2 separate regions of the Homo sapiens genome follow, and region 1 is linked to region 2. Evidence: promoter capture Hi-C in human tissues and cell types (Jung and others, 2019). All regions are on one chromosome and are shown on one strand. Each heading gives the region's core, a stretch centred on a gene start or on the middle of the fragment in contact. The rest is flanking DNA. Distances are from core to core; before and after follow the strand shown.

Region 1 (3,084 bases), core at 336-2,835, 130 kb before region 2:
CAGGAGAAGAAAAACAGAGTAATACATAGCAAGTTCCCCAACCCCAGCAGGAAGGGCATGTGCTCAGGGTTTGGGGTCTTTGGGGTTCTACTTCCTTGGGGTGCCACCTTCTTTGAGATCTCCACCTGCTCTGGTTCTGGAGGCTGAAGAAGCTACTACAGGGGAAGCAGGGGTTAGGGACAAGAGTCGCCTGCCACCTGTGCTCTTCCAGGGAATTCAACCTGAACTAGTGAAGGTGGAGCTGGAAGCCCAGCTCAGGGGAATTTGACTGAAGGGCCAATGAGCCAGGACTAGCTCTTCCCAGTATATGTCTAACTCCCCATCTGCCTCCTCCTGTTCTACAATCTGTGAGGAGAAGCTTCCCTTCTCCTGCCCAGGGAACCCCAGCAGGCACCCCTATCCTCATTAATGCCCTCAGCACCACCAACTGGCTTTTCCAAGGCACCATGTTGTGCCTTGTGGTGCCTCAGCACAAAGGGCAGGGCCAGAAGGCATGATCTGGGGAGGGGCTCCTGGGCCTTGGGTGGTGGGAGAGCTGAGAGGAGGGCAGTGAGCGGGACTGAGCACCTCATGAGAAGCAGGGTTGCCCAATCACAGACTTCCTACGAGCCCCAGGAAGAGAAGGCCGGGGACACTTTGCAGAACTGCTCCCCACACGGCAAGACAGAACAATCTCTGGGCTTGAAAATGTCTTCCTAGCTTTCTTTCTCCTCTTTTCAGTTGCTGTCAGTATCGGAAGTTCTCCCTGCTGTCTGCCCTCAAGGCTTCCCACTGTACTGCCCTGGCCCTGGGCTCACCTGAGATTGCTGGGGAAAAGAAAGGTAAAGTCTGCTTCTTTCCCCGTCTTAGGACCTTGCTCCTCCACTCTCCACAAAAAAATTCTGGCGGGGAGAGCAGAGATGGAGCTAGGCCTTAGAACTCCTGGGTTCGGGGCCCAACAACCCTGTCAACTCTCTCTGGGAACTTGCACAGGTCACTTTCCCTCTCTGGGCCGAGCTCCTATGTGTAGCATTGGATGGATCTCCTCTGCAGCTCCCTGCCTTCGGGACAATGCGCAGTGGATTCAGGGGCAAGGCTCCGGAATTTAATGAGAGCTCACATCATTGAGCTCTACGCTGAGCCCTTTCCTATTATGTCATTTAATTCTCAACAACTCTAAAGGTGGGTGCTTTTTAAAGTCCCATTTTATAGATGAGAAAACTGAAGCACAGAGATATTAATAATTTGCCCATGGCCACATAGCTAGTGAGTAGTAGAACAGAGGCAGAACTTAACATGATGAACCACTACCCCATACTACCTCCCTGGTGAGAACATTCAAAAGACCATGGCAGCTGAAGGAAATCAACGAGGATATTCAAATTGGCCCAGGTTTTTGAAACTGTCTTCTAAGGTTCCTCTAGACTAGCAGTTCTCAAAGTATGGTCCCTGGACCCTTTCGGAGGGTTCCTGAGACCCTTTCGGAGGCTCTACAAAGTCAAACCTATCTTCATAATAATGCTAACAATACATTATTTGCCCTTTTCACTTTCATTATTTCACAGTGTTCAGTAGAGTTTTCCAGAAGGTACATGACCTATGATATTGCAACACACTAAATGCAGAAGCAGATGAGAAAGCAACTGTCTTTGATTAAGCCAGATGTTTAAAAAGACTTGTGAAAATATAAGACAATGTCACTCTTCTTATTAACTTTTTGTTTACTTTAATACAGCTGTTTTTCATTAAAAATACGTCATTTTGTTAACATGCAAAAATTAATAATTATTTCATGTGTCCCAGTGTTCATTTCTAACACAGTAAATGTTCATAGATAGAACCCACACAAACCAAAGCTCTTTGGAGTCTTCAGTAACTTTTTAGAATGTAAAGTGGTCCTGAGGTCAAAAAGTTTAAAAACCAGTGCTCTAGACTCTAATACACTCACCCTCTCCTCTTACCAGTTGCCTATATCTTTTTTATCACAGGGTCAACCGGGAGGTTTAGACACGTGGAGAAGGAGTGTGCCTGGCTCTACCAGTTGGAACTGGGATCAGAAGTGGAGCTGAGGAGGCTGGTCCAGGGAGAATGCAGTGCTAAGAGGTCAGACCTATACCCCACTTGGGAGGTGACCTCACATGTCTGCCACCTTGCAAGCCCCTGCTCAGAGGTATGCTCAGGACAATGGGGCTGCCTCAGACTAGACTCTGACCTTTATCCCCCTTTTTCATTCCAGACGATGCTGCTGACAAGCCCGGCCTCAGGCTGGAGTCAGACTGCCCTGGTGAGGGGAGAAAGGCTCTCTGGGGCCTACATACCTGCATTTGTGTTGGGGGGGTGGGTGGAGCAACAATGCTTAGAAGACTATAAATTGGGGGTTCTAGGGCTTGTAATCTTAGGGTGAAGCCATGTCTACAGGATGGGGTCGTTAGTAGGAGAGGGGTTTCTCTTGAGATCTCCTATAGAATTAGATAATAGGATCCTATACACACCCTGCTGCAGGATGCTCACATAAACCTCCAAAGTCAGGCTCCTTCCCCAAGAATAAGCGATCAGAAATGTTTCCTACCTAGAGTCAAACTGGACAGTAGCTACTCTGTGTCTTAGGAGGCAGGCCCTTTGCTGGGTGCCAGAGGGTCCAGAGAGAGAAGAGATGCCTTTGCCAATCTGACGGAGGTACAGGCCTCACCCTAGAGGAAACCCCCGGCTAATGAGGGAGACAAGTCTCCTCCAACATCGCCATGCATGGAGAACCCTGGGCCAAGTTGCAGATGCAAGTAACAAGCAAGATGGCAGAGCAGAGAGGGAAACAGGAGAATAGAGATCTGCGGGAGGGGTGAGACTTGGAATGGCCTTTGTGAGGGTCCAGAGTGTGGGGAGGAGCATGGCTCAGAGACTGCCTGGGATATGCTCCCCAGGATCAGGGTCTGAAGAGTGCAGTTCCACAAGATATGGGGCTGGAGGGGATGGGAGAAAGGCATAAAGTCTCTTGAAGCCTGTGATTGGGAAATTTTTATCCAATGCCAACAGATGTGTCTGGGTAGAGAAAGGGCAAGATAAAACTGATGCTTCATGATGACAATTCCAGTGATAATTTCATTATAG
Region 2 (3,431 bases), core at 820-3,319:
ACAGAGGCCCCAACTCACGGTCATTTGATACCAGTGGCTGAGGCTTCTCAAGTCCAAGGGCCTGAAGGGAAGGAGACTGAGTAGAAAGTAGACAGAGTGAAGCATCAAGAGAGAGCAGTGGGGGCGGGCGCTGGAAAGGGGAAGGGTGGGACTGGAGCCAGAGAGGGCAACGAGAGGGAACGGGATGGATGGCAATGTCCGGTAGCTGTAGGAAAGGACCAGGAGATGGAACAGACTCGCCACCAGAGTCCCATCTCATACTCTTGGGGGTACAAAAGGTCAGATTCAAGATGGAACAAGTTTTATGCTCCAGCGTCTCTGTCCCAGTGTCTCCCGCCTCCCCTGGAATGCAGAAGTGAGAAATCAGGGCTGGACATCACCTAGATCATCTGCTTCTGGGCAGGCCTCCCCATCTCACCTGGCTGCCTTTGCTCTGGCCTTGGGGCTTTCCCACGTTAGCCACTCTTCAGGGAGACCAGGATATGGGCTTCTGAGGTCTCTTCAGCTCCAACGTGCTGTGCTTAGGCTAGCTCCAACCTCTCCTGCTACAGTGACAGCTGTCCCTCTTGGCCTCACTCCTGCCATGCTTTTGAGATTTTCTGTGGCCTTCCGTGTTCAGCTGTGTAAGGTCCACCACACAGACATGTGGAAAAGTTATTCTGCTAACATAATTACATGACCCTCCCTGGATGCAAAACAAAACAAAAAAAACACCACTGTCCCTCTAGAATCAGAGATACCTCAGGGTGCAGTGGCAGCATGTGACTTTGATCTGACCCTCTATGGTCTCCCTCATGCCTCAGTTTACCTGTGCATAGTAAGAACCCTGGAGGGCCATGAAGAGGATCCTTCCTTCCTACGTATCCAGAGTTAAACTCACTACTCTGTCCTCACCCCCCAAGCTGGATCCAGAAGTTTAAGCCCCTACCCGCCCATCTCTGCTTTGGATCTCGGGTGCACAGAATTAATCATCAGTCTTGGTTCAGGGCACAGGGTTCACCTCTTCATGCTTGCCTAATGTTAATTTTTTTTTGCCCTGGTGTCAATACCTGATCCTCTTTGTCTTGTCAAAGACATGGGAATAAATAGTAGCTATTCACTCTCCTTGGAAGCATGCAGCCTGGGAAAACCTCCCTTCCCACTGTGCCCCAGAAAACCGAGTCCCATAGGATCAGGGTAGGGAGTGCACACACAGGTGGCAACCAAAGGACAGACCCCTTCTCATTGTGGGCTTTATAGGCAGAGAAACCCCAAACCCACATCTCTACAGGACAGGATCTGGGCCAGCCCTGTCCTTCCCTGCATTCCCAAGTTAGGAGTGCTGAGTGAAGCAAAGGAAACTGGCTGGAGCTGAGCCAGGTTGCCAGTCTTGGACGCGGCTCCATCTTTTATTCAGAGAATGACCTCATCCTTGGTCCTGGTTCTTTAAAAGAAAGTGGAGGGGGTCTCTTTCCTGCAGCCTGGCTTGCACTTTTATCGCCCCACTCTCCTACATAGTATCAAAGAATCAGAATCAGACTTCACCTACAGAAGATTCCCAGGCTTTAGGACATAGAGCCAATACCACATTTGTCCCCCTTTTGTCCTATATTATCAATTTAGCCTCTGACCCAGTTAGCTCCTCCTCTCCACTGCATTTAACTTCTAATTACCCTTGCCCCACCCTCGGCCCACCCTAATTACCCTTATACCTCCCCTCCCCCAGCCCCAGCTTCATTTACCTCCGACTCATCTGGTCTTATTTTTAGCTCCGGCATCTCTCCTTTTCCTTTCTTAATATGGCGATGAGCTCTTAGGCCAGTGTGGGGACCGGGGCTGAGGTGCCCTGGACACTGGAGGAGGGGGAGGGAAGGAGCCCCTGGGAGCCTGGGGTAGAAGTGTAGGAGGTGGGAGGATTCCGGCCCGCATGGAGCTGTCCTGGCCTCAGAAGGTTATCCGTCTCTCCTGCCAACCATGGAGACATATTTAGACAGGACCAGGTGGGGACTGAGGGGTGCCAATTTCAGGGGGCAGCTCCGGTTCCCTCCCCGCCCCCTGCTCCTATTCCTCCACCTGACCCTTTTTCCCTTGGCTCTGTCGGCAGTTTCTCCAGGACCCAGCAGTGCCCTCTGTCCACTGCTCTGGGCCATTCCCCAATCCCCCCTCCCACTTGAGCCCCTAACTCAGAATCTGGGACCCAGGGGCCCCTCCCTACCCCAGCTAACCTCTTCTGGACCAGGAGAGCCAACCCAGATCCCACTACCTCCATGAGTGCTACAGACAGGATGGGGCCCAGAGCTGTGCCGGGTCTGCGGCTGGCACTGCTGTTGCTGCTGGTGCTAGGGACACCCAAGTCAGGGGTACAGGGGCAGGAAGGGCTGGACTTCCCTGAGTACGATGGTGTGGACCGTGTGATCAATGTCAATGCAAAGAACTACAAGAATGTGTTCAAGAAGTATGAGGTGCTGGCACTCCTCTACCATGAACCCCCCGAGGATGACAAGGCCTCACAAAGACAATTTGAGATGGAGGAGCTGATCCTGGAGGTGAGTTGGGGGCACTGCAGGCCTGCAGAGCATGTCTAGCCCCTCTCCGGAATCCCCTATCCTACACCCATGTAGCTCTTTGAGGATGGGATCTGGGGGTGAGGGGCAGTGTGGTAGGAACCCTGTCCTGACCAACAGGATGCAAGTGGCATGTGGCTTTAGTCAAATGAGAAACAGAGTCTCAGGAACCCAAAAGTACTATCAGCGTCAGGAAACCTTTAGCAGGGGTGCTGCAGGAAGAGCTCCCCTCCCTGCTATAGGAGGCTGGTAGTATTTGACTTAGGTTTGGCTAGGACACTGAGGGTGAAAAAGGGAGGTACTTGGAGGGCCAGGGGAGAACAGCAGTGTATATTGCACTCCCCTACCCCACCCATCTGCTTAGCCAGAACACGTCCTCTCCACATACTTCAGGGGCTGCACCCCAAAGAGATCCAAACTGAGTGTAAATGTAAATGTTATGATACTTGCATGCCATGTTTAAATATCTCCTAGAGATCATGCCTCCCATTGGACTCCCAGTCCCCTCTCTCTTCCTTCCCCCTCCCTAATTCCCCATTTGTCTCCATTGGATAAGCTGGATGCCCTCACTGGAAAATTCTTATGGTTGCAGGAGGTGTCAGAATGTCTTCCCCAATCTTCTTTTTGTGGGAAAAGTCTCCTCACCTCCAAAATGACTTCAGGCCCAAAGGAGAAAGAAGTTATCATAAGAAAAGAAAAAAAACCTATGTTTGGGAATGTGTTCATACACACACACCTTTAGGAAATGGGATGTGAGTTTTCTTGTCCAAGCTCCTGTGGCCCCTTCTCTGGCCTCAGCTTGTCCAGAGCTTGGAGCATTTCAGGGTGAGACACCAGAACCACAGGCTCTCATTTTGTGCACCCCTGCTGGGTGCTAGAACCTGCCAT

The links. Contacts are between HindIII fragments. The study calls those that stand out against the background at their distance.
Region 1: a fragment that was not itself captured here is called in contact with the fragment with the promoter of CASQ1 in region 2 in 5 of the 25 tissues and cell types used here (IMR-90 fibroblasts, adrenal gland, aorta and 2 more).

What each region holds. Positions count from the first base shown.
Region 1 is chr1:160,062,769-160,065,852 of GRCh38, forward strand. All of the region lies in intron 1 of KCNJ10 (potassium inwardly rectifying channel subfamily J member 10), which reads right to left. Among named protein-coding and RNA genes, the nearest start is that of KCNJ10, 5.8 kb to the right of the region's middle. The HindIII fragment of the contact is 5,791 bases long and covers 1-3,084 here.
Region 2 is chr1:160,188,506-160,191,936 of GRCh38, forward strand. It overlaps CASQ1 (calsequestrin 1), which reads left to right and starts at 2,070. Exons shown (of 11, transcript NM_001231.5): 1 at 2,070-2,525. The coding sequence starts at 2,247. The HindIII fragment of the contact is 26,832 bases long and covers 1-3,431 here.